Linked DNA regions of Homo sapiens: all the other regions are linked to region 3. Evidence: promoter capture Hi-C in 16 types of primary human blood cells and fetal thymus (Javierre and others, 2016). All regions are on one chromosome and are shown on one strand. Each heading gives the region's core, a stretch centred on a gene start or on the middle of the fragment in contact. The rest is flanking DNA. Distances are from core to core; before and after follow the strand shown. Region 1 overlaps LINC01504 (long intergenic non-protein coding RNA 1504). Region 2 has its middle 17 kb from the start of ZFAND5. Region 3 holds the start of TMC1 (transmembrane channel like 1). Region 4 overlaps ZFAND5 (zinc finger AN1-type containing 5).

Region 1 (6,918 bases), core at 3,708-6,207, 200 kb after region 3:
GAGTATATAATACTATATTCCATAAGCATTACTATACAAAAATCCATATGCATGTAATCTGTATCAAGCAGACAGAAAATGCTTTGAAAGTAATGGTGATAGAAAACAGTGATAAGAAAGCATGAAGTGTTATCAGCAAAATGGCTGTTGCAATGACTGCTACATATGCTATTTTCTACTAATGGTATTATACATTCTGGTTTTTCAAATTTCAGATGCTGGGGCTATGGGACCTGGTTAATACAAGAGTAGGGGAAAATTAGTATCCTTACCAGTGTGTCATCTTTGAAGCAAAGGAGTGATTTCAGAAATGAAGAGGTCACAATAGAAGCGACAGAATAATAATGCCTCAATAATCAGTGAAATTATCTTGAGATAATGAATGCTTCTAGGAGGCAGCAGGAGTGGGGGATGAGAGGAATTAAGTGATGAAAATGGCCCTACCTAAATTTCCACATAATGGGGTTATGAAATAACCTGTATCTGTTGGGTTAGAATAGAGTAAAATAATCTTGATTTTGGTAATGTAAAATTTCTTTTTTCTGAAAACATTTTTTATTTTTGTAATTATTTTTCAAGGAAAGTTTGTGTAAGCTTTGTGCATTCTTCTTTTTATTCTTGCTGACTTACTTTTGGTCTCCATAGAGGTACTCAAAAGTTAATGAAGTGACAAATTTTTTTTTCTTTTTTTTTCCTGAGATGGAGTTTCACTCTTGTCACCCAGGCTGGAGTGCAATGGTGCGATCTCAGCTCACCGCAACCTCCACCTCTAGAGTTCAAGTGATTCTCCTGCCTCAGCCCCCTGGTAGCTGGGATTATGAGCATGCGCCACCACACCCGGCTAATTTTTTGTATTTTTAGTAGAGATGAGGTTTCAGGAGGTCTCAAAACTCCTGACCTCAAGTGATCTGCCCGCCTCGGCCTCCCAAAGTGCTGGGATTACAGGCGTTGAGCCACCGCGCCCAGCCAAAGTGGCAAAATTATATTTAGTAAAAGGGAAAGGAGTAAGGGTGGTGGTGAGAGAAAAGGCGGTGAGTGAAAACCTTCATTCAAGACTTTCATACACAATTTAACAGCTAACACTTTGATAATATTGAGGGCTTACGTGTGCAAGTGTTCTACATAAATATTACCTATGAAGTAGGTAATATTTTTATTCCCCACTTTGAAGATGAGAAAACTGAGACTCAAGGTTATTTGCTCAGTCACAGAGCTAGTAAGTGATAATGCCAGGATATTCAAACCTAGACCCAAGTGCACTCATGCTCTTAACCACTGTGCTATCTTGCTTCCCTGAAGACTCTAACAACATTTGGTCCTCAGAACCTATTCCTATGAAAGGATTTCAATGGCTCTTGAGCACTTTGCTCTCCATGACTTTTCCAGGAACCATGCTGATATTTCCATTGTTGACATCATCCCAGTGCTGCCTGCAGTTGTGTTTCCTCTTATTTATTTTCCTTATTGGAAACTAGAAGCTACAGTTATTAAATGCATTCAAATAGAGCTGCTCAGGGGAACAGACTTTCATGAAGGCCATACTCTTTAAAGGCTAACATAAAGCTTCCAAGCTCCCCCACCTTAGGAATCAGAGAAGGATGAAGGGCAGGAGACCCAGAGAGAGATTCTGTTGTCCTGACCTGAGCAGTAGACTATTCTATGCTTGTTCACCAAGAATGAGTAGCTGGGAGAGCAGAAATCCAGTTTAGGAAATATCATTCCCCAAAGAAGGAAGTCATTAACCAACATTTCTTCCTCTCTGTTAAGGTATGTGAAATGTAAGGAGAATGATTAAGAACCTAACAGGTAACAGTGATTAAGAGAAGAGGACTGGCCATCAATGGTAGACTGGATTAAGCAAATGTGGCACATATACACCATGGAATAGTATGTAGCCATAAAAAAGGATGAGTTCATGTCCTTTGTAGGGACATGGATGAAGCTGGAAACCATCATTCTGAGCAAACTATCTCAAGGACAGAAAACCAAACACCACGTGTTCTCATTCATAGGTGGGAATTGAACAATGAGAACACTTGGACACAGGGTGGGGAACATCACACACCGGGGCCTGTCATGGGGTGGGGGGAGGGGGAGGGATGGCATTAGGAGGAATACCTAAGGTAAATGACGAGTTGATGGGTGCAGCACACCAACATGGCACATGTATACATATGTAACAAACCTGCACGTTGTGCACGTGTACCCTGGAACTTAAAGTATAATAACAAATGTATATATATAAATTTTTTTTAAAAAAGAGAAGAGAATTGGAATCAGATTGCTTGGGTTCAATTCTGGTTTCATGACTTACTAGCCAAGTGAATCTTTGTGCAAATTACTTCAACTTCTCCAGATGTCAGTTTCTTCATCTGTACAAGGAATAATAATAATGCCTATTTTATAAGATTGCTGTGAAAGTTTAATGTAATTATCTATTTAAAGCTGAATATAACAAGTGCTAAATAAATATTAGATATTTGTTAACACAACTTGGGAAAGCAGGTGGTGAGGGTTGTATTAGCTTCCTAGGGCTTCTGTAACAAATGTCCACAAACTGAGTGGCTTAAAACAATAGAAATTTATTCTTCACAATCTGGGGCCCAGAAGTCTGAAATTTATGTGTTGGCAGGAATTCACTCCCTCTGCATTCCAGGTGCCTATATCCCTCCAATCTCTGCCTCCATTTTCACATGGCGTTCTCTGTGTGTCTTCTCTTCTGTCTCTTTAAGGACACTTATCATTGGGTGTAGTCCAGGATGATCTCATCTTAAGATCCTTCACTTACTTACATCTGCAAAGACCCTTTCTCCAAATAAGGTCACATTCACAGGGTCCAGGTTTTATTTATTTATTTATTTATTTATCTGTCTATTATCTGAGTGGAGTCTTACTCTGTTGCCCAGGCTGGAGTGCAGTGGCATGATCTTGGCTCACCACAATCTCCGCCTCCCAGGTTCAAGTGATTCTCCTGCCTCAGCCTCCCGAGTAGCTGGGACTACAGGCATACGCCACCATGCCCAGCTAATTTTTGTATTTTTAGCAGAGATGGGGTTTCACTACGTTGGCCAGGCTGGTCTTGAACTCCCGACTTCGTGATCCACCTGCCTTGGCCTCTGAAAGTGCTGGGATTACAGGCGTGAGCCACTACGCCTGTCCGGGTTCAGGTTTTAGAACAAGGACCTATCTTTTGGGAGGCTGTCATTCAAACCACTATAGGTGTTCAGAAACGTTTTCACTTCTCTTTTAACTACTTTCATTCCACTTTTGGCCGGGTACAATCTTTATGCTGTTTCCTAAATGCTGATGGTTCTTCCTTGACTTAGGACACTTTGCTAACTCTGTTAGGCTCGGTGCCATGGAGGATATAAAAATAAAACATCCTGGCTGGGCACAGTGGCTCATGCCTGTAATCCTAGCACTTTGGGAGGCCAAGGCGGGAGGATCATGAGTTCAGGAGTTTGAGACCAGCCTGGACAACGCAGTGAAACTCCATCTCTACTAAAAATACAAAAATTAGCTGGGCGCGGTGGTGTGTGCCTGTAGTCCCAGCTACTCGGGAGGCTGAGGCAGGAGAATCACTTGAACTCGTGAGGCGGAGGTTACAGTAAGCAGAGATCGTGCCACTGTACTCCAGCCTGGGCAACAGAGCAAGACTCCATCTCAAAAATAAATAAATACGTAAACAAATAAAATTTAAAAAAAAATCACAGACCACAAAGTAATACAAATCTGCCATGATCAAGGCCATCAGAGAAGTATAGATGAAGGCACTTAGAGGATGAGAGTTTACTTTGAAAATAAGCTAATAATTGAACTAGGTGATGGGTACATATGGGCATGTAGGTTGGGGTGTGTAGGGCTCCTTCTACGTAAGTGGAAGGAATAATGAAAGCAAATGTAAAGAAGTAGGATAGCATGGAGTATGTATTGAAAACAGCAAATTGATTTTGCTTTGGAACAGGGATCAATAAACTGGCCCATCCAGCCTACCATCTGTTTTTATATGTGCCCTGAACTAAGAATAATTTTCATATTTTAAATGGTTGAGAAAAAACAAGATAATTAAAAATTTATAACATGAAAATTATATTAAATTCAAATATTAGGATTCATAACTAAGCACAGCCACACTGTTTTGTTTACATATTGTCCATGGCTGCTTTCACACTACAATGGCAGAGTTGAGCAGTTGCGACAGAGACCACATGACTGAAGAGCCTAAAATATTTTCTGTCTGGTTTTTTTTTTTTTTTTGATGGAGTTTCCCTCTTGTTGCCCAGTCTGGAGTGTAATGGTGCAGTCTCAGCTCACTGCAACCTCTGCCTCCCAGGTTCAAGCGAGTCTCCTGCCTCAGTTTCCCCAGTAGCTGGGATTACAGGCAGATGCTACAATGCCCAGCCAATTTTTGTATTTTTAGTAGAGACAGGGTTTCACCATATTGGTCAAGGCTGGTTTTGAACTCCTGACCTCAGGTCATCTGCCCGACTCAGCCTCCAAAAGTGTTGGGATTACAGGCGTGAGCCACCATGCCCAGCCTCTATCTGGTTCTTTATAGAAAAAGTATGCGGCCAGGTGTGGTGGCTCACACCTGTAATCCCAGAACTTTGCGAGGCCAAGGCAGGCGGATCGCTTGAGCTCACAAGTTTGAGACCAGCCTAGGCAACATAGTGAAACCTTGTCTCTACCAAGAATACAAAAAAATTAGCTGGGTGTGGTGGTGTGCACCTGTGGTCCCAGCTACTCGGGTGGCTAAGGCGGGAGGATCGCTTGAGTCCCAGAGGTGGAGGTTGCAGTGAGCTGAGATCATGCCACTGCACTGCAGCCTGGGTAACAGAGTGAGACTCTGTCTCAAAAGAAAAAGAAAAGAAAAAGTTTGCCAACTCCTGCTTCAGAAGAACCCTCAGGGGCATAAAGGAAATAGCAGAAGAAGATATGCTGGTCCAGTATTGCCATTTGGCCTTTGGTAACAGCCTACATTCTTGACTTTGCTCAGCCTTTTTCTACCCACCTAAATTTTCCCATCCCAAATATTATCCTCTCAAGACCTTAATTGGTTATTTGCTAAGTAACCTGAGAGCTAATTTTGCGATCTTTTTAAAGCTGTGATTGAATCATAACAGTTTAATGTATAACTTATTACTCCTCCTAGGTAACATATTTGGAATTTAGGGGAACCCAAACCAAAAAATTGCTTCCCCCTGGCAGAACAGTGGGAAAGATATTTGCAAAAGTGAGCCTTCCTTCAACTTTCATGTCACACCTTATAGGCAGCCAATTCTACCTATCAAAAGCAAACTTGGTTGTTAGTTTTGCTGTTACCCTTTCAATTGGTTAAGTTACTAGTATGCCATTTGCTGCTAAGTTTACCCTTAGGGGAGAAAAATAACGGCAAGAATTACTTTACAATAATTGTCAACCACTGAGAGTTAAGTCTCTATGCCCCCTTTAGCTAATAAGGTAGGCCTGGGTAGCTATCATTAAGTCAAAGATTTTTTCATGAAGGAGGAAACAGCTCCCTGATGAATTTGAGATGAGATTAGAAATGCTGAAAGCAGTGTTCTCAAACTTTAGCATAGAGAAGAACCGCCAGAGGTCTGTTAAAATACGAATCCGCTAATCTTACCCCCAGAGAATCTGTGTCTCCAGTGGAACTCAGGAGTTATGGGGGGAAAAAAAATGATGAAGGATCCAAGCTACCTCCCACAAAGCAGTCTTTATATTTGGTTCTTTACTTGCTCCAAGAATCCCTAAGTTGTTAAAGTAACAGACAATGTAAGTAGACAGAAGCATCATTTTGAAAGACTTTCCTGTTCTCTCATTCTGTTTAACTGACCTTTATTCCCAGTGAGTAAACATGAATCAAACCCTAGTCTAAGTAAGAAAACGTGATTTGAGGGAAGGGCTGGATCTTTGAAAGCAGTATAGAATGGAGGTTAGGAAGGGAACTCTAGACAGAGGCTGCCTGATTCAAATCTCACCTCTGTCACTGGTGCTATGTGAGCTTGGGTGACAACTCGAATCTCTCTGTGCCCTCGTTCCTTCATCTGTAAAATGGGAATAACAATATTATCTATGTCTCAGAGTAGCTGTGAGCATTAAATGAGTTACTACATGTAAAAAGCATAAAATAGAAACTTTTAGTACATTTCAATAAATATATAAAAACTTATTGGAGAAACTCTTGTGTGACCTCACATACCTTGTAAGAGTGGCATGAGAATTAGAGCATGTTCATAATTAAACAATTATGATTGTGCTATTTACTCCAAGTTAGCCAGGGGCTTGTTCCTTAGAGACCACTGTCATTTTCTACATTTGTCCATGAAGTTAATCCACATATTTACAAATCCTAAATGTAACTTTACTTTTATTTTCAATAGGTAACAAGTATTAAGAACCATATCACAAGGACTTTGATAACTGCTTGACTTTGTGTGCTTTATCTCATTTATTTCTCAAAAAAAAAAATTCCATGGGGTAAGTACTACTACTAGCTCCATTTTACAGATGAGAAACTGATGTTGGCCGGGTGTGGTGGCTCACGTCAGTAATCCCAGCACTTTGGGAGGCCGAGACGGGTGGATCACCTGAGGTCAGGAGTTTGAGACCAGCCTGGCCAACATGGTGAAACCCCATCTCTACTAAAAATACAAAAATGAGCCAGGTGTGGTGGCGCACGCCTGTGGTCCCAGCTACTCGGGAGTCTGAGACAGGAGCCTTGCTTTAACCTGGGAGGCGGAGGTTGCAGTAAGCCAAGATCTCGCCACTGCCCTGCAGCCTGGGAGACAGGGGAAGACTCTGTCTCCCCCACCCACCAAAAAAAAAAGAAAAAACAGAAAACTGATGTCACACAGCTAGTAGGTAAGTGCAGCTGGGACTCAAATCTAGGTTATCTGGCCCCATTCTTCTGTGGCA
Region 2 (6,809 bases), core at 3,553-6,052, 140 kb after region 3:
AGCTCCTGAAGAACATAAATACTATTGAGGCAGAGTTGGAGTTGAGGAGCCAGTGTTTAGCAAAGTAATGCAAAAAATAAACAAACTTCTCTTATAGCAAGTTTGACTGTACAAAGAAGGCAACAGGAACACATCTCATATTTCGTTAAAATCACCCCTCTCCCCAACGATGGTACTTAGCACTTAGTATGTTGAGGGAGTTCAGGTAGTAGATGTCGAGGACAAGGAGTACCTCAATTCCTACAGTGCTCTGAGCTCGACTAAATGCTTCCAATTGCCTAGTTCAAACCCAGGCTCACACTATCCCAACAGAATTAAATTAGATGGCTTTCCAAACATGACAAAGATATGTTTGTTTAAATGACAACTGTAGGATTCCCCCAAGGACATGTAGGCCATGTGAAAACTGTGAGCACAGAGCTCACAGCTGTTCACTTCAACAGTCAACAGTGGACGACTGGTAAGAAGCCAAACAATTTTTTATTGTTTAAATCTTGGGTACCGTTGTTTTTCTAATAGCTTCCCTGCTAACGATGCCAATTTGATCTCTAAAAGTATTTTTCAGGAAAGATTTTTCATATGTTAACAAGACTTGCATTTGATTCAACTCCTCTAACATTGAAATATAAAGTGATTAGAATGAAAATTTCCTAACACAGTATTACCTTTAAAAGTTATTTTCTGAAATAGTTAAAACATAAACTCCTCCTTTCTCTTATGGTCCTCCTCAGGTTCTATATTAGAGAAAGCTGAATGTCTGTGAGTTCAGGGCTGACTCACTCACTTAGTTCAGACAGGTTACTGAAATAATCATAGAAGTAAGAAAGCAAAGAATTAACTTCCTATTCCCTAACTCTACCCCAAATACTGCTTTTCTTTTTTCTGTTTTCTGGTATTTGGTTCTTGTTGTTTAGCTTAAGTAGGACTATACCTTTACAAGAAATCTTTTGTAGAAGCCCACTATATAAAACTGCTGCTAGGCGCAGTGGCTCATGCCTGTAATCCCAGCACTTTGGGAGATAGAGGTGAACAGATCACATGAACCCGGGAGTTCAAGACCAGCCTGGGACAACATGGTGAAACCCTGTCTCTACAAAATACAAAAAAAATAGCGAGGTGCAGTGTCACGTGACTGTAGTCCCAGCTACTCAGGAGACTGAGGTGGGAGGATCCCTTGAGTCCAGGAGTCTGAGGCTGCAATGAGCAGTGATGGTGCCACTGTGCTCTGGCCTGGGAAACAGAGTAAGACCCTGTCAAAAAATCAAAAAACAAAAAAAACCTGCTAAAAGCAGTTTGTAGTTGAAGGAGACAAGAGGAAGAGAAGTGGGAGGGAAATGAAAACCTGATGATCATTTACCATCACTCATGCTATGGCCATTTGCTGGACGTAGAATAAAGCTTAACCTTGAGGTTTCTGAGGGCACTTAGAATTTGATTCATGATCTTCAGGACTTAGGAACATGAAAATACTGAGTCAGACCAACCTTCGGTGAATAGTACAGCAGCCTATTTAGCCACTTCATTTCATGCATTCTTTCTACAGTTATTCACTGAATATCTATGATATGCCAGCTACTGTTCTATTCAGCAGGGATATAGTAATAAACAATACATTTTCTGTTTTCATAGAGCTTACATGATAGCGGGGAAACACATTAAACAAAAAAAAAAAATGTTCATCTGATAAGATTAAAAAAATGGATGTGGGCGGGGGGCAGTGGCTCATGCCTGTAATCCCAGCACTTTGGGAGGCCAAGGCGGGTGGATCACCTGAGTTCAGGAGTTCAAGACCAGCCTGGGCAGCATGGTGAAACCCCGTCTGTACAAAAATACAAAAATTAGCTGGGCATGATGGTGGGTGCCTGTAGTCCCAGCTACTCGGGAGGCTGAGGCAGGAGAATTGCTTGAACTCTGGAGGCAGAGGTTGCAGTGAGCCGAGATCACGCCATTGCACTCCAGCCTGGGCAACAGAGCAAGACTCTGTCTCACAAAAAAAAAAAAAAAAAAAAAAGGAAATGAAGAAAAGTAAAATAGTATTAAAGAATAATGAAAAAGTATGTATCTGTGGGTGTATGTATATATGTGTTTGTGCTCTTTTATATGGTGGGTAAAAGAAGGTCTTCCTTGTGAGGGTGACCTTTAAGCAGGGAATAAATTAAGTGAGGTATCTGGGACAAGAGCTATTCTGCAGGAAGAAACACTAAGTGAAAAAGTGCTGGCCAGGTGCAGTCGCTCACGCCTGTAATCCCAGCACTTTGGGAGGCAGAGGCAGGCAGATCACAAGGTCAGGAGTTTGAGACCAGCCTGGCCAATATGGTGAAACCCCATCTCTACCAAAAATACAAAAATTAGCTGGGCGTGGTGGCAAGCACCTCTACTCCCAGCTACTCAGGAGGCTGAGGCAGGAGAATCGCTTGAACCCAGGAAGTGGAGGTTGCAGGAAGCTGAGTTTGCACCATTGCACTCCAGCCTGGGCAACAGAGCGAGACTCTGATTCAAAAAAAAAAGAAAGAAAGAAAAGAAAAGAAAAAGAAAAAGTGCTGAAGCAAGAGAGGGGTTGGCATGTTTGAGGATGAGCAAAGAAGACCAAATGGCAGGAATAAAGTGAGCACGGGTGAGAGCAGTAGGGGGTGAATTCAGGAAGACATAAGCTCCTCTGGAGAAGAGTCCAGATCATCTTTAACCTTGGTCTCCAGGGTGCCAGCTGCTAGTCCTGTCATAGGCGTTCAATATGTACTGAAGAGAATCAGAAAGGCCATTGTTTTGGCAAACAGAAAGGCATCAAAGAGTACAACTAATTCCTTAGTTCTTCCATCAAAAAGTCTGAGGTGGTGAATTTTGTAATTTATTTGTCTGATTATAGTTCAGAACATCCCCATCTCTTATGGAGAACACTGTCTCACTCCCCTGTGACCCTCGCCTTGGAGACAATGTGTTTCCAGTGTTTTCAGGGCCACATCTCCCACCACATTCCCAGTCAGTTTCTGATGTTCTTATTGCTCAGATTACATAGTATGACACGTTCCAAGAAAAATGATGACTGTTAAAAGATGAACGTCATAATAGATTAGATCTCCTGGTGCATAAAAATCACTTTTTTGTTTTAAATCAGAAAAGAAACAAATTGTTGCAAAATCAATGACCTTGCACTGCAGTAGCCCTGAGCTTTGTAGGACTTCTGTCCATGTAGTTTTGGTCAATGATGTCACTTGCTCTGTCACTTTGTGCTGTGTTAAGTGTAATTTCAGAGCTAAACCGGTACTACAATGTGAACATTGGTTTACTCTTCTATTTGTATTTCAGGGAGCAGGCCATTTTTAGCATCTCTTCTTAGGTAGAGCAATTTTCAAATGAGATTTATGGCAGGCTTTATAAAATCTTAGCAAATAAACCTATGTCTCGTGTTTCCTTTTGTAAGGATGACCATGGTTCCATCCTTCCCTCTCGTGGCACCCACCATCTGCTAAGAAACATGACTGATTCCTGGTTTTCTGATCCGTTTGCAATTTTAACTTGAGTTTTTTTTTTTTCAAATTGTCCTATTCGCAACTCTAAATATGTCAAGATTAGTCAGAAAAAATGCAATCCTTCCTTTTTAAAATGTTATCTTAAAGGGATATATTATCTTTGGTAAAATGAGGTTAATTTCAGATCACTCACACACAAACACACAGGCACATACTACTTTAGATCTGTGCCACATCAATAATGCAGTAGCCCGGATTATTGACCAGCTGAAACAAGGAAAGTCAGACTATTCTGTAGGTCTATAGATGCGGGACATTGCATTTAAATTGCCTGACATTAAAAGCCGAAAAAGGAAAGGTAGGAACTTTTGCCATCAGAAAATTTGTGAGATTAAAATAAATAAATAAATAAATAAATAAAGAAGAAAAAAAAAGAAAAAGAAAACACAAAAAAGATCTAAAACAAAAGATAACCAAAAAAAAAAAAAAAAAAAGAAAATTTGTGAGATTACGTCTCTCTTCACACTTAGCACCCCTTAGCATAACAGCACCTCTGATATGTTAGATTGCAACCTAGGTGTAGGCTTCATCTCCTTTTAATCTTTTCCTGTCTCACAGGGAGTAAGTATTCTAGTGACCTTGTGAAGGGAAGTCTACAGTCTTGGCTTACTATTTATATGGTGGATTTATCAAAAGATATTCACTTAATTTTTTTTTTTTTTTTATGCTCAGGCTGGAGTGCAGTAGTGCCATCTCAGCTCGCTGCAGCCTCCGCCTCCCGGGTTCAAGCGATTCTCCTGTCTCAGCCTCCCTTTCCCTGTAGCTGGAACTACAGGCATGTACCACCACATGGCTAATTTTATATTTCTAGTAGAGACGGGGTTTCATTATGTTAGCCAGGCTGCTCTCGAACTCCTGACCTCAGGTGATCTGCCTGCCTTGGCCTCCCAAAATGCTGGGATTAGAGGCATGAGCCACTGCGCCTGGCCAAAAAGATACTCACTTTAGTGAATGAGGGTCCTGTCAACTCTCTTTACTGACTATTAAATAGGGATACCACCCACCTGCTCCAGATACATTCCAACCCACCTTCCCTCAAAACAAACACTACTTGGACTGGGATGACCAACCATTTTGGTTTGCCTGGGACTGAGAGGTTGACTGTGACATAGAACTTTCACTGCTAAAACTGGGAAAGTACCAGGCAAAACAGAGGAGCTGATCACCCTAACTTGGACCCTCATTAAGAGTGGAACAGTTCCTGATTGAGATACGCTGACACTGTGCCTTGATAGAGCTGCTCTGTTTCTTTTTACCACACGATGAATAAGGCCTCAAGGTCCAGGCCTTTGAGGTACACCATGTGGAGGTTCTCTCACTTTTCCACTGACAATTTCCAAATTAGCAAAATGGTGATAATAGTTGTGACTACATCCTAATTATCTTATGAGAATTGAGTTTATATTAATATATATAATGGTGACAACAAAGACTGTCATATAATCAGTGCTTAGCAAATGTTACCTATCTTATTTTATTTATCTATTTATTTATTTTTGAGACGAAGTCTCGCTCTGTTACCCAGGCTGGAGTGCAGTGATGCGATCTCGGCTCACTGCACCCTCCACCTCCTGGGTTCAAGTGATTCTCGGGCCTCAGCCTCCTGAGTAGCAGGGACTACAGGTGCCCTCCACTACGCCCAGCTAGTTTTTTTGTATTTTTAGTAGAGACGGGGTTTCACCATGTTGGCCAGGCTGTTGTTGAACTCCTCACCTCAAGTGATCCACCCATCTCAGCCTCCCAAAGTGCTGGGATTATAGGCATGAGCCACCATGCCTGGCCACCTATTGTTATTAAAATAACTAGCTATGGATAGGGGAGAAATGACGCAGGATTTCTCCTCCTCTGCTGCTGATTCTTTTCTAGTGAATCTTAAATGTCCTGTATGTATTGTATTTTCAAAGGTTAAGAAAGAGAAAGAGGGAAAAAGAAAGGAGAGGGAGAATAAGGGAAAGAGAGAAAGAAAGGAAAGACAGAGAGAGAAAGAAAGGAAAGACAGAGAGAGAAAGAAGAAAGAAAGAAAGGGAGAGAGAGAGAAAGAAGGAAGGAAGGAAAGAAGGAAGGAAGGGGAAAGGAAGGGAGAGAAAGAGAGAGAAAAAGAAAGAAAGAAAAAAAGGAAAGAAAGAATGAAAGAAAGAAAAAGAAAGGAAGGAAGGAAGGAAAAAGGGGAGAGAGAGAGAGAAAGAAGGAAGGAAGGAAGAAGAGAGAGGGAGGGAGAGAAAGAAAATACTAAAAACTTACAGTCAGTTAAGTTAGTAAGATTTATTTTCCATCTTAAAAATTATTTCTACCCACAAGGACTAAAATTTGAGCACAAGCAAAGCCCAGGTAAAAAATGTATATTTTTGAGTCTGGGCATGGTGGCTCATGCCTATAATTCCAGCACTTTGGGAAGCCAAGGCGGGCAGATCATCTGAGGTCATGAGTTCGAGACCAGCCTGGCCAACATGGCAAAACCCCATTTCTATTAAAAACACAAAAATTAGCTGGTGAGGCAGGAGATTCGCTTGAACCAGGAGGCAGAGGTTGCAGTGAGCCAAGATGGTGCCACTGTACTCCAGCCTCAGCAACAGAGCAAGACCCCATCTCAAAAAAAACAAAAAACAAAAAAGTGCTGGGATTACAGATGTGAGCCACCAGCACCATGCCCCAATGGTATCTTTAAAATGAAAATAATTAATATTAATGCATTCTTATGCTCTTATCAACATTGTTTATCATAGCTAAGAAATGCAAACAACCTGAATATCCATCAGTAGGATAGTGATTAAAATAATTACATTCCACTCATACTCTGCAATTTGTTAAAATGAATAAGGTAAATAATTTACATGGAAAGATCCCCAAGGCGCATGTTGCAAAACAACACATATAGCAAAACCTTATGTATTTAAACAAATCACAAGGATGACTCCCCGTCTCAAAAAAAAATTATTTGTTGCTTAAAATTTTTACAAAGAGTTTGTTCATAAATTATTAATACTTTGTAATTTAAAAAAAAAAAACACAAAAAAAACAGCTGGAGGAAAGAATTCTACTCAATTCTTCTGTCGTTATTTTGTTCCTCTTCCTTCTCCCTCACACCTAACATCCTTCTAAAAAAAAGGAGGAAAAACAGTTTGCTGCAAGTGCCAAAGTATCCGGATTGCTGTAGATGAGGTATAGGGCAAATAATTCACTAACTGATAACAAGGATTGACCACAGTAAAGTGTCCACAAAATTATACCCAAGTACAAACTGAAAGAAACAGCCACACTGGGCCAGGCGTGGTGGCTCATGAC
Region 3 (7,357 bases), core at 3,041-5,540:
TCATGCCTCAGCCTCCCAAGTAGCTGGGAATACAGGTGTGTGCCACCACGCCCGGCTAATTTTTGTATTTTTAGTAGAGACGGGGTTTTGCCATGTTGGCCAGGCTGGTCCAGAACTTCTGACCTCAAGTGATCTGCCCGCCTGGGCCTCCCAAAGTGCTGGGATTACAGGCGTGAGCCACCGCAACTGGCCAAGGATTTTTTTGTTTTTCATGTGAGCAAGGAGAGAGATACAACAGTTCAAACTGTTTCCCTTTCTTTCAGTGATGATCCATCCACTGAGCCTTGTCATCTACAACAAGCTCTGCGTTTGTCAGTCCCAGATGGCCTTTGATTGGCTGAGTGTCATCTGTGTTTCTTTCTGGGTGGAATATTGAGTAATAAAATCTCAAAAGAAATTAACTTATTCACACTGTTGTTAAAGCAAGACATTGGTCTCGCCCTAAACTTCCCATCACACAAGCCTAAGGCATCTGACTCAGTACTTACAACTGCCCTGAGGTAATGTAGTATCTGGTTCACTTTTTAGCCAATGAAGCGTGCTGTGGAGGACAAAGAGCAGCAGAGGCAGGAAGCAGTGACAAGGAGTGAGCTGGGAAATTCCAGCTGCCCTCCTGTCCTACTTACAAGGAATAGGTATGACTCATTTTTAAGATGCAAACAGATGCTGACTTGGCTAACAAAATCCTATGCAAAATGTAACCTCTCTAAGACCTTGTTTCCTTTTCTGGAAAAAATAAAACAGATAAGCTATTATATTTGGACACCTGGATACTATTGTTAAGTACCGGTTTAAAAGAATAGGCATACATGTATTTGTTTTGAATATGCCCTTTCTTATGTCCTTGAAGCCGGCCTTCTGGACCGTATCTTTCTATCAAAGACAAACTCTACAAGAAAAACCTCCACAATCCAGGCTTGGGCTGTGCAGGTGTGTGGTGATCTGCTCCTTAGAGATATGTGGAATTTTCCGGTAACGACGCTAATTAGTATATCCTCGTGTCCACCACCACATAGGATTCCAAACATCTGGTTTATAATCCTGGCTCTGCACTAAATGGCTATGTGGCCTCAGTTTTCTCACCTGTAAAATCAAGAGGTTGGTCCCTTAAGATTTCTCTCTCTTCTCACTTCTTTACTGTTTTATAATTCTAGGACTTAAAAAAATTGAGAATGCATACCTATCTTTTCCATTTACTTATCTACCATAAGAATGAATGCTTATATGGGATACAACATTTTGTGTTTATCGGTTTTCTTTCATTGCAGGGAAAGGAAGGCATGACTGGGGTAATACTGGGTCAAGGATAAGATATAACATGTATTAGAGTTAACAACTATTCCTCGCTTACCTCATTGGGTTGTTATAGTGATCAAATGAGATCGCATCCTTGAGAAGTTTATCATGTATTATTAGTCTCTATTAAAATGTGGTTAATATTACTAGTAATAAAAGTGAACATTTATCTAATAAACATTGGTCAAACACCTTCTACATATCAGGCACTATGGTAAATACTAAAAAGACACTGATCCTGTTTTTCAGGCTCAAAGGAAGTCAAAAGAGCTCAGATAAATTGATGACAATATTTACCCTTAAAATTATTTTTTTCCTTTTTGAGACGTTTGGGCAGAATAAAGGCACAAATTTCTACATGCTATTTTCTTTCTCTATTTTCAAGTACTATGCATCTTTTTAAGTGCCCCATTCTAAACCTGAAGAAAAAAACGACATATCTAAGATTCTGCAAAAGCTCAACTGATTTCAGGCTAGGTGAAGAAATAAAAGATGCTACAGTCTATTAACTGTTGGGACCAAGTATAGTGGCAAGTATTTAATGGGCTCCCCAGCACTGACGAGTGAAAATGGATGATGATAACCTCACTGCAAAGGGTAATAGAAGACTGACCTTGGGCTATGAAAAATGTGTTCTGTAGACTTGTGGCTGCAATTTCAGAGCCCATGATGCCCCTTTCTCACTTTATGCTTCAGTAGCAAAGCATTTACCGGCTTTGAGTTCTTTTAATATAATATGCTGTTTCAGGCCTCTATACATTTTTTTTTTATTCTCTGTTCTTAGCCTGGAACAAGTACAGTTGACTCTGAACAAGTCAGGTTTGAACTGCATGGGTCCACTCATATGAAGATTTCTTTCAACGAAAGCTACCCCGAGTGTGCCTGCCTTTCCTGCCTCCCCTTCCACCTCCTGCACCTCTACCATCCCTGCCACCCCTAAGACAGCAAGGCCAGTCTCTTCTCTCTCCCCCTCCTCCTTCAGCCTATTCAACTTGAAGATGACAAGGATGAAGAGCTTTATGATGATCTACTTCCCCTTAATGAACAGTAAATATATTTTTTCTTCCTTACAATTTTCTTAATAGCATTTTCTTTTCTCTAGCTTACCTTATTGTAAGAATACAGTGTATAATACATAAAACATACAAAATATGTGTTAATAAACTGTTTATGTTATTGGTAAAGCATCTGGTCAACAGTAGGCTGTTAGGAAAGTGTGAGGGTAGTCAAAAGTTAAGCTCAGATTTTTGACTACGCAAGGGTCGGCATCCCTAAACCCCAAGTTGTTCAAGGTCAACTATAATTCCCTATTACTCCTCACTCTTCCTCCCTCCTTCCTCCTCTTCTTCCTTATCCCTTCTCCTTCATTTTCCCCACAGGCTAACTGCAACTCAGCCCACTTCATTTCCTAATTTTTCCTCCTCCCTGCATCCCCCCGAGTCTTTGTGAGATGCTCTTCCCTTCACTCCTGCCAGCCCTATGGCATCATGGCATTATCATGGTGTATGGAGAACTTCTGTCTTATCTGTTTCTCCCACTAACCCAGTGGTTTTCAACTGGAGACAATTTTGCTCCTCAGGGGACATTTGGAAAAGTCTGGAGACATTTTTAATTGTCACTTCTGGGGAAGGGGGTTGATACTGTCATCTACTGAGTAGAAGCCAAGGATGCTGCTAAACATCCTACAGTGCACAGGACAGCCCCTCACAAAAAAGGATTATCAGGCCCCAAAGGCCAATAGTGCTAAGGTTGAGAAACTGCACTAGGCTGAGTTCCTTTAAAATATGACCCTATTCAGCGCTGTTCCAGCAGCTCCACAGACAGTGTCCAGTGCCCAGTAGGAAGGAATCCAAACAGTTTTAATATTACATTTGAAATTTTAATTGAAAAACTCTTCTGACAGCTGTATGTTATAACTAATAAGCAATATGACCACATACCACAATTCAAAGGAAAACCAATATCCAGAGGTAAAGGTGGCTTACACCCATCAGTCTTTGACACTTCCTCCTATCTAGTTCTCTGTATTTCTTCCCTTTCTCCTTTTCTCTTGTCCCTGTGCTCACTGTCCCCCTTTACTGTCATGTTTGTTTGAATTCCACTTCAAAATGGGAATTTGAACAGAGTGCAATAAATTGTCCCACATTTGTTTATTTTAGGAAATCATTGCATTTAATTTTAACATTTAAACATATCAATTAGGCCAGGTGCGGTGGCTCACGCCTGTAATCCCAGCACTTTGGGAGGCTGAGGCGGGCGGATCACGAGGTCAGGAAATCGAGACCATCCTGGCTAACACGGCGAAACCCCGTCTCTACTAAAAATACAAAAAATTAGCCGGGCGTGATGGCGGGCGCCTGTAGTCCCAGCTACTTGGGGAGCCGAGATCGCGCCACTGCACTCCAGCCTGGGAGACAGAGCAAGACTCCGTCTCAAAAAAAAAAAAACTTATCAATTACTGGGTGACATGCTGTGCACTGCAAGAAAAACAAAGATAAATAGGAAACTGGGACTATCCTAACTGGGGGAGATTTCTGTAGCAGTAGAAAAGTAGAGGAAATATAGTTTTATTTCACTAATGTGATTAGGGAATATCTCATGGAGAAAGTCTTCGATTTAGGTCTTCACACATGTTTCATAAAGAATGTTAACACACCACACATAGGTAATAATGTTGTCTTTCCTTACCTGGCATCATTATGAGGGCCACTTTTTGGGGCAATGATTCCTAAATTTCAGCAACTCCTGGAGGGCTTGTGAAAGAAAGCACAGATTGCTGGGTTCTGCCCTCATAGTTTCTGAGGCAGTAGGTCTTCGGTGAAATCAGAAAACTGGTGTTTCTTTTTTCTTTTTTTTTTTGTGACGGAGTCTTGCTCTGTCACCCAGGCTGGAGCGCAATGGCGTGATTTCAGCTCACTGCAACCTCCGCCTTCCGGGTTCAAGCGATTCTCCCGCCTCAGCCTCTGAGTAGATGGGAAACAGTCGCGCGCCATCATGTTTTTGTAGAGGCGGGGTTTCACTCTATTGGCCAGGCTGATCTTGAACTCCTGACCTCAGGTGATCCGCCCACCTCAACCTCCTGAAGTGCTGGGGTTATAGGCGTGAGCCACGGCGCCTGTTTGTTTTTTTTTTTCTAATCAGAGGTTTTGCTCTTGTCGCCCAGGCTGGAGTGCAATGGTGTGATCTTGTCTCACTGCAACTTCTGCCTCCCAGGTTCAAGTGATTCTCCTGCCTCAGCCTCCCAAGTAACTGTGATTTCAGGTGCCCGCCACTACACCCGGCTAATTTTTGTATTTTTAGTAGAGGCGGGGTTTTGCCATGTTGGCCAGGCTGGTCTCAAAACTCCTGACCTCAGGAGTTCGGCCTCCGAAAGTGCTGGGATTACAGGCATGAGCCACTGTGCCCGGCCTAGAAAACTGGTGTTTCCAACAAGTCCTTTGGTGCTGCTGGTGCTACTGCGGGCCTTCTGAGGAGACTTTGAGAACCGCTGCATCAGGATTATCAGCCTGGTAACTCCTGGCCGAAGAAATGCACACCCTTCATTTGGCTAAAAGAAAGAATTTCCAATATTCATAAAGAAAACACAACTTGTGGGTTCTCCAAGCAGGAGAGGAAAAATCATGTTCCAGTCTATTCCTGTAACTAATGAAGGGCTCAGGTTTCAAAGGTAAGTTAATTGTCAGACCCACTTTATTGTACCCAGTGTCCTTGGGAAACATAATTATTTATTGGAAATATGTCACAACTAACATAAGTCTTAAAAATTTGTTAAATTAGAAACAAAATATTGTATTTGCTGATATGTTAAAACATAAGGGCCTAACATTTAGAATTGCACTTCTCATACTCACAACATGTACTCAAAATGCTGTTAACATCTACTTTGATGATTGTTTTGGGTTTACTTGAATCTAATGTTTCCATTTAATAATTCCTTTTTTTTCCCCTTTCCTTTTTTCAATCAATCCTTTCTCTTTTCTATGTTCTATATTCATGTTATCTTAGAATTCCATTTTGGCCTTCTAGGTTCTTTACTTCTTCCTCCAGCCTGTCATTTTCATGTCTTCAGTGATTTCTCAGACTTCTCACAGAAAGTTAACCATTTTTGTGCATCTTGAAACTTTTAACCTTTGATTTGAAGATAAATGCTAATAAATAAATATAATTCTTATGAATACATTATGCACAATGTTAAATTCAAAATGACTGACATGTTTCATGCTGTGTGCTATAGATATGCTAAACTTCATTTCAAACAGACTAAATAAAACACATGGAACTACATGCACTTTTTGTGAACAGCATCTTCATACCTGTTGTTTGTTAATGTCAGCAATTATAAGCTTATAGGTGTGTTTTTCAAGTGATCACTGAAAATAAATGTAGTATGTCTATTGGCAGAACCACTCACACCTACTAATTATTTGAAAAACATGCTCAAACACACAGTAGTGCCTTCTAGAGAAAGCATAGTATAGTCCTCCCTCATTTCCAAGGACAAGAATTCATTTCTTTAAGCTTTCTTCACGAAAGAATGCAATAAAAGAGGAGGAAACTGGGACTTGATTGAAGAAATATCTCTACTGGGAGCATGAACTAATAATGAGTGACTCTAAGAAATCTCTCACAGGCATTTTTATTTTTGGCTTTTGTTGTTGTTGTTTGGTTGGTTTTCATTTGTTTTTTATTTTTATTTTTTATTTTATTTTTATTTTTTGAGGCAGAGTCTCGCTCTGTCACCCAGGCCAGAATGCAGTAGCACTGTCGTGGGTCACTGCAGTCTTTGCCTCCCAGGTTCAAGTGATTCTCCTGCCCCAGCCTCCTGAGTAGCTGGGATTACAGGCACCTGCCATCATGCCCAGCTAATTTTTGTATTTTTGTAGAGACGGGGTTTCACCATGTTGACCAGGCTGGTCTTCAACTCCTGACCTCACGTGATCTGCCTGCCTCAGACTCCCAGCTGTTTTTTTATTTTTTAATTTTAATTTCATTTTTTATTTTTTGGGGGACAGGGTCTCACTCTGTCACTCAGATTGGAGTGCAGTGGTGTGATCTCAGCTCACCGCAACCTCCGCCTCCTGGGTTCAAGCGATTCTCCTGCCTCAGTCTCACGAGTAGCTGGGATTACAAGTACACACCACTACCGCCCAGCTAATTTTTGTATTTTTATTAGAGATGGGGTTTCACCATGTTAGCCAGACTGGTCTTGAACTCCTGACCTCAAGTGAGCCACCCACCTCAGCCTCCCAAAGTGCTGGGATTACAGGCGTGAGCCACCGCGCCCAACCTGTTTTTTCTTTTTACCGTCACTAAAACAAAGGCAGCACATGCAATTGTCAGTGCCATTTGGCATCTTAAATTAAGACTGAAGACTGCAAAATCCATTTCCTGTTTTCATCCCCTGCTTAATATGAATTTTTCAAAAGACCACTTCCCCTAAGTTACAATAAGAAAATTAGAAATTAATTTGCTTTATCACAAATGGCTTGCATGCTGAGGCATTGTTTAAATGTGTCTGGTCCTTTCTGATTTTTATAACTTAGAGCTGTAAGTCCTGTCATTTCAGTTTACACCATAGTTTTAGGGACACAGAAATTTAAAAGCGAATGTCCGGAAGGCTCTCTGGAATGCTGGCCTACTTTGCACAACTGAGGGGCTATTGTTCAAATCTTTTCTGTAGTATACATGTTAATATATCTTGGGCTCTTTCCAGAAGTTATTCTGGCTAAAGGACATCGGAAGCACATCTGAGTTCTCATTCTAATAAAGAAAAGAATGTAGTACCAAGGCAGTAGTTGCTTTCTCAGCTGTCTTTACCTCCTCCAATGTTTTACTGGAAAAACCTCCTCATTTATTTATATTTATATACCAATCATGACATCTATCTGGTGATAACCATGTGCTAGGTTTTGTAAGCATTATTCCATTTATTTATTTATTTATTTATTTATTTTGAGATGGAGTCTCGCTCTGCCACCTAGCTTGGAGTGCAGTGGCGTGATCTCAGCTCACTGCAACCTCCACCTCCAGGGTTCAAGCGATTCTCCTGCCTCTGCCTCCT
Region 4 (6,385 bases), core at 1,504-4,003, 170 kb after region 3:
CAGTGTGGGCTTTAGTACAGTAATGTATTTTTTGTTCATTGTGAGAAATTTTATTGATGCCATGTGTACACTGAAACTTAAAGCCTTTTTAGGTGGAGAAACGGTGGGACTGTTTGTAGATGCTATCTCTGTCGATAGTGGATGCCCATTTTAGATAAGATTCTTGTTCTGCCTGTGGAATCCTTAATAGTTTAAAATCAATACTTCTCGAGTAGTTTCTAAAGACTGTTTGCCGATCTGTTTTTAAAACCAAGGTTTAAAAAAATCTTTCAAGTCTTCCTATGATGTTTAGTGCACCTGTGAAAATGGTAAAATGATTGTTTTGGAATTTTTGGATCTGACGTTGATTTAGGGATGAATGGTTTGAGTTTTATTTGTCAAAATTTGCTGTTTTTATATCTACAGGATTTTTTTTCCTATAAGCATAAAATCAAAGTTGGCTACTGTTATTTACTGTGATGTAATGAATTTGAACTGCCCTGATTGAAAAGTTTGCATTTAGGAAATTATAACGTGGAAAAACTGAGCATATGATTAACATCTCCCAGCTCTTTAAAACAGAATTAGGATTTTGTTTTTAGTACTGGCTGTTACCAGTGTTTTAAAGGAATTTCTTGAGTGAAGCGATCATTTTACAAAATTAGAGAAGCAAGTAGTATGGTGATTGGCAGGAATTTCTCAGATTTGAATCAAGTTCTGATGTTAAAATGGAAGATTCTGTTTAAAGCTTGTATTTTCAAGGAATACTTATAAACATTTTTATCAGGCATCTTCCTGTTTCTCTTAAATACTTCCTTTTTTGACTTAAAAATGTTAGCCAGTGAATGCTTGACAAATTTGTGTTTTTGTCCTTTTCAGTTGTCACTCAGCCCAGTCCATCAGTTTCTCAGCCCAGTACTTCTCAGAGTGAAGAAAAAGCTCCTGAATTGCCCAAACCAAAGAAAAACAGATGTTTCATGTGCAGAAAGAAAGTTGGTCTTACAGGTATTACAAAACACAAGACAATGTATGTTTTACTTCTGCAGTTAACAAGGAGCTTTTGGTCACTCCCTAAGAGACTAGTTGGTCTTACACATAAAAAAAAAAAAAAAGCCTGACTAGCTGTAGTCTAGGAAAGGTGGAGGAGGTGGTATTGGGGTGGAAAGAAGTTGGGTTTTACTTCCATTTGTCTCCTAATCATATAAAACTATTAACTCAGGCCCTCTTATTTTATTAGATTGATAAAAAGTTTTTGTATACCTAGGGAAAATGTTACTGAACTAACAGTAAGCGCCACCTACTTTGAGCTATGCAGGGAATGTTCTTGGTGCTTTTTTTCTTGTCTCCTTCAAATCTCAGACCTTGATGGTTGTTTTCACTTGAGGAAGCATTACTTAAGATATGGTAGGACTGTGTTTTGAATCCAGCTTAGCCTAACTCCAGAGCCTGTGTAAATTTTATCCTGCGTTGCATCTACAGGAGTCGATAGAGGGAGAGCATCTGGGAGAAATTAGCTGGCAGATAGCCCATTTTGTTTTCTCCACGTGGTTTGGCTTACCAAACACTTCGCTATTGCCCTTGCAAGGAAAGACTGAACATAGTTATTTGAATTTCTCACCATGTCAAAGGAAGTTAAAAGTTCCTTTTCCAGGTTAACGTGATAGACTCTGTAAGAGTTGACTGTGTCTTATCACCAGGAAGTGGAAGAAAAGAGTTCACTGTCTTTTATGTTACAAAGCAATGAAAATCTGGTTCCTTTTCTATAGTGACTAAGGCTTTTTTTTCTTTTAATTGCCTCAAGTTCTCAAATGACTCTACTTCTTCGTTTGTACAGGGTTTGACTGCCGATGTGGAAATTTGTTTTGTGGACTTCACCGTTACTCTGACAAGCACAACTGTCCGTATGATTACAAAGCAGAAGCTGCAGCAAAAATCAGAAAAGAGAATCCAGTTGTTGTGGCTGAAAAAATTCAGAGAATATAAATTACTTCTTGTGAAGAGACTGAAACTTTGTTTTTATTTTAATATATCGTAGGAAAACATTAAAGAGCAGATGCATGGCCATTTTTCTTTGATGTTCTCCAGAGTTTTACATTACACTTGTCTGTCTTATAATTGATATTTTAGGATGTTTGGGTGTTTGTTACAGGCAGAATTGGATAGATACAGCCCTACAAATGTATATGCCCTCCCCTGAAAAAAATTGGATGAAAATCTGCACAGCAAAGTGAAACACACAGATAATAGGAACAAAATGTAGTTCCCATGTGCCAAACAAAATAAATGAAATCTCTGCATGTTTGCAGCATATCTGCCTTTTGGGAATGTAATCAAGGTATAATCTTTGGCTAGTGTTATGTGCCTGTATTTTTTTAAAATGGTACACCAGAAAAGGACTGGCAGTCTACTTCTACCATAGTTAAACTTCACCCTCTTTAATTTCACAACATATTCTTTGGAAGCAGGAAGAAATGCTCATAAAGAGGATCAGACCTTCTTTCCCGTGAAACCAGTATTTGGCGCCATATATAAGCCTGGTTAAATTGGTCATCTAAAGCTGTCAAATAAGACATTCTGTGAAAGGTAAACATCGAAACTGGTTATAAGTAAAACCATCAAGCCAACAACAGGGTCTTGAGATAACCTTTGAAGCTTATTGTACTGGCCTGCACCAGAAGATGTCTGCATTACTCATTGCTAAAAATGTGTAGCACAGAACTGCACTAGGATTAATTTGTTTACAAGAAGAAATTTAAACTCTACGTTTGGTTTTCACATACAGCAGCTCTATTGAATAACATGCATCTGAATTTTAAGTTGCAAAGGTATCTGAATAATTTTTCATGTGCATCTTTTGTCGAATGTTTTGGTTCAAGAAAGAATGTTTAAAGCTTTTTAAAAGACTTCAGTTCTTAATGTAACTGTACCCTTCTGCATGGAAAATCATAACCAACATGGCTGCAGTAGACTTCTTAGTGGTATCCAGCACCACTTGCAGAGGGCTGCTTTATCATATTGTACTTGGGTGTAGGACTCTAGTGTTCTTGGGTGTATTGCATGGGCTGCATTATCTACAGCATTGTACAATAACAACTAGAAAAGGCAGTATACTTCACTGATGCTTGTCTGGTAATAATCACTTCTGTGTTATAATGGAAGGTTTTTTGTGATGTATGAAACTTGTGTTTTTTATATATAAATGAGTATAGTTAGTGTTGTGGTAATGCCTGTTTTCATCTGTAAATAGTTAAGTATGTACACGAGGCACTACTTCTGATTTATTGCAATGTTCAGTCCTAGTTTTTACTTTTATTCTTAAAGCATTCAGTTTTGCTTTCAATTTTATGTACCTTAGTTCTGAGTTAGACCTGCAGATGTGTACAGATAGTTCATATTTATGTATTGCACATAATCATGCTATTCAGCATTGATGCTATATTGTATTATGTAAATAATAAAAGCCATGTACAGAGGGAAACTTCACTTGTTCATTGGGTTTTTAAGCCATAGTTGGAGTCCTAAAGGGGGAAAATTAGAAAATGTTACTTTACATGGCTATATAATTTTTTTTCCTTTGCCATCGCTGAACTTGTTCAAGTGATAATCAAGAGATATTAGAAGCATTTGCAGGTATGATACCTGATAGGCAGTTTATTTTTGAAGAATTCAATAGGCACCTTTGGGATTAAAACAATTTTAAAATTTGAGAAAGATGAAATTTGAACAATTATGGCCTACCTCGCTTCTCCATGTTGTAAAAGATGATGTTTTATGACAATTCTGAAGAAGAAAGTAGGTATGACTTAGTTTACAAAAAGAGTTCTGTTTTATTTCTGTTTTGGGTTTGGCTCTAATACAGAGATTCACCCATGGACTTGGTCTCTGTAGCGTTTATGCCAGATCATAAAGAACAAGGGGTGACAGGTACATGTTGACTTTACCTGGGGTAAATGATTACCAGAGTGCAACTGTTGCTTCTCTGTGATGGAGTTTGGGGTGGAAATACCCTAGTTTTATCTGTCAGTTCTTTGCATGCTGCTACTTTTGCTTCAAGTTAGGGAGGTACATATGTATGTCAAAGTTCCTATACTGACATAGGGTAGTATTTCTCTGAATATGAAAAGTCACAATTGAGTTGAAAATTTAGAAGTTGAAGATTTAGAAGGGCAACTTAATTTTTCAAGTTAAAAATGGAAGTAAGAGTGGTATAGAGAAGGTAAGATGAGCCCTCGGACTCCATCACTCTGAAGGTCTGAGTAGTAGCAAGAGATAGATTTTTGTTTGGCCAGGCTGCAGTGCAATGGCGTAATCTTGGCTCACTGCAACCTCTGCCTCCTGGGTTCAAGTGATTCTCCTGCCTCTGCCTCCTAAGTAGCTGGGATCACAGGCACCAGCCACCACGCCCAGCTAATTTTTGTATTTTTAATAGAGACAGTTTCTCCATGTTGGTCAGGCTGGTCTTGAACTCCTGACCTCAGGTGAGCTGCCCGCCTCGGCCTCCCAAAGTGCTGGGATTACAGGCGTGAGGCACCGCACCCGGCCAATCAGTTTTTTTTGTTTTTTTTTTGTTTGTTTGTTTTACAAGAAACATTAAACCAGATCAGAACAAAGATTTGTCAGGGTTGTCCATTGACTGGGGAGAAAGGGAATCAGTGTGTAAGGCACCTGAGAGGACTCAGTTCTACCCAAATTCTTGCATTCAAACCTGAATGCAAGGCCATGAAGTCCTTTGAAATGTACAGATATTAAGCAATTTAATAATATACCATGTTTCCCTTACATAAGCAGACAAATATTTACACCCCCATGACCTGAAGTTTTGTTAGGCTGTGACCACATGAATTCGCAGTATAAATGGGTGAGTCCTTTTTGAAAACCTCATCTTCAGTGTGCCTGATCTGTAAAACTAGAGCCTCAGGTTTGATCCTAGGTAGGCTTCCCACAACGTGGGGAAAATTAGTTTGTGAGGGAAAGCTGTTTCTGAGCATTATGGCATAGTGATTAAGATGAGGGACCCTGGAACCAGCCCGTGATTTTGGGCAAGTTATTTTAGGTCCACTTTGGACTGCTTCATCTCTTAAATGAAGACAGCAACCACCTTCAGGAGTGTGAAGGTGACAACACTTAAAACTGTGCCTGGCACATTGTATTTGCTATTGTCTTAATGTTCTGGAATAATGGTTTCCATAACTTGGGAAGAAAACTTTGAGAACAGGATTGGTTACATCAAGTTGTATAGTGAAAAGATAAAGATTTGTTATTTAAACTTGCAGTTTAAAGTCATTAGAATCATTCTTTTCCGTAAGGCTTTCTTTGCAAGAGATCTGCATTAAATAAAGTTGCTAGGAAATAACTAAAATTGGGGAAATAATCTAATAATAGCAAGATGTTAAGCATACTATTATTGTATTTTGGGGGTTGGTAATAACATTCACATGGATTTATCAATACACACTGAGAAGCAAAGCCTCTCAAGCTGTCCCATATCCTCCATTTCAAAGGCACACATACATTTTAGGTAACTCATAATTTAGAAAGGTTATTTAATCTTTTCCACATGTAAATATTTGAATATGTACAAAGACTTGATTTGACTCTTGTCTGTTTTTGTTTTGTTTTGTTTGTTTGAGACAGAGGCTCCGTCGCCCAGGCTGGAGTAAAATGGCATGGTCTCAGCTCACTGCAAGTTCCGCCTCCCGGGTTCACGCCATTCTCCTGGCTCAGCCTCCGGAGTAGTTGGGACTACAGGCACCCGTCACCACACCTGGCTAATGTTTTTTGTTTTTTGGGTTTTTTTGTATTTTTAGTAGAGAGAGGGTTTCACCGTGTTAGCCAGGGTGGTCTCGATCTCCTGACCTCATGATCCGCCCACCCCGGCCTCCCAAAATGCTGGGATTACAGGTGTGAGCCACTGCGCCTGGCCGACTCTTGTCTGTTTGAATGCAAAGTTCTCAATAGTGGTTTTTGTCCATAAGTATTAACTTATAATTTTGGAGAGTGATAGGTATGGTTGCTGGTTGATTAGCAATAAGATTATGTAGCCTTAAACTAGCTAGAAGAGTTTGCATGGGTGAGGCAACAGGCTGTTAACAAAAAGAAACTGGAAATACAGTTTCCCCTGTTTGTTTCTCCTGTTTGTACAATCTGCTTTAAAAACAAGTGAACATGCACCATGTCAGTCATGGTGAATCGGCCAACAGCCAGCCCTTGCCAGTTGACATCACAGTCTAAGATGGGAAACTGGTACAGATAGACATGAAGAGAGCTTAGCAGTGGTTGAGGTGGTGACTAAATATACAGTCATTGAATAAATACCGTGTAGCAAATGTAAAAAAAAAAAAAAAAGTACAACAGAATACAAAAGTGCCATTTAATATTTTATAGCTATTTCTATGCACAAGTGCTG

What was found. The method cuts DNA at HindIII sites, captures the fragments that hold promoters and counts their contacts. A CHiCAGO score of 5 or more calls a contact.
Region 1: a fragment that was not itself captured here is called in contact with the fragment with the promoter of TMC1 in region 3 in 7 of 17 cell types (non-activated CD4 T cells, naive CD8 T cells, activated CD4 T cells and 4 more); the score reaches 9.4 in non-activated CD4 T cells.
Region 2: a fragment that was not itself captured here is called in contact with the fragment with the promoter of TMC1 in region 3 in 2 of 17 cell types (M2 macrophages and endothelial precursors); the score reaches 5.7 in M2 macrophages.
Region 4: a fragment that was not itself captured here is called in contact with the fragment with the promoter of TMC1 in region 3 in 6 of 17 cell types (endothelial precursors, M1 macrophages, non-activated CD4 T cells and 3 more); the score reaches 12.9 in endothelial precursors.

What each region holds. Positions count from the first base shown.
Region 1 is chr9:72,324,118-72,331,035 of GRCh38, reverse strand. LINC01504 (long intergenic non-protein coding RNA 1504) reads right to left here. Exons shown (of 5, transcript NR_110952.1): 3 at 2,315-2,372. Among named protein-coding and RNA genes, the nearest start is that of LINC01504, 22 kb to the right of the region's middle. The HindIII fragment of the contact is 6,784 bases long and covers 1,566-6,918 here.
Region 2 is chr9:72,378,863-72,385,671 of GRCh38, reverse strand. No RefSeq gene overlaps it. Among named protein-coding and RNA genes, the nearest start is that of ZFAND5, 17 kb to the right of the region's middle. The HindIII fragment of the contact is 6,804 bases long and covers 1,401-6,809 here.
Region 3 is chr9:72,518,541-72,525,897 of GRCh38, reverse strand. It overlaps TMC1 (transmembrane channel like 1), which reads right to left and starts at 4,290. Exons shown (of 24, transcript NM_138691.3): 1 at 3,985-4,290. LOC101927234 (a long non-coding RNA gene) reads left to right here. Exons shown (of 3, transcript XR_001746721.3): 2 at 529-635; 3 at 2,081-2,480. RefSeq lists enhancers at 24-585, 586-1,147. The HindIII fragment of the contact is 6,235 bases long and covers 1-5,641 here.
Region 4 is chr9:72,351,530-72,357,914 of GRCh38, reverse strand. It overlaps ZFAND5 (zinc finger AN1-type containing 5), which reads left to right. Exons shown (of 7, transcript NM_001102420.3): 6 at 859-984; 7 at 1,814-6,385. The coding sequence ends at 1,962. Among named protein-coding and RNA genes, the nearest start is that of ZFAND5, 10 kb to the left of the region's middle. The HindIII fragment of the contact is 239 bases long and covers 2,634-2,872 here.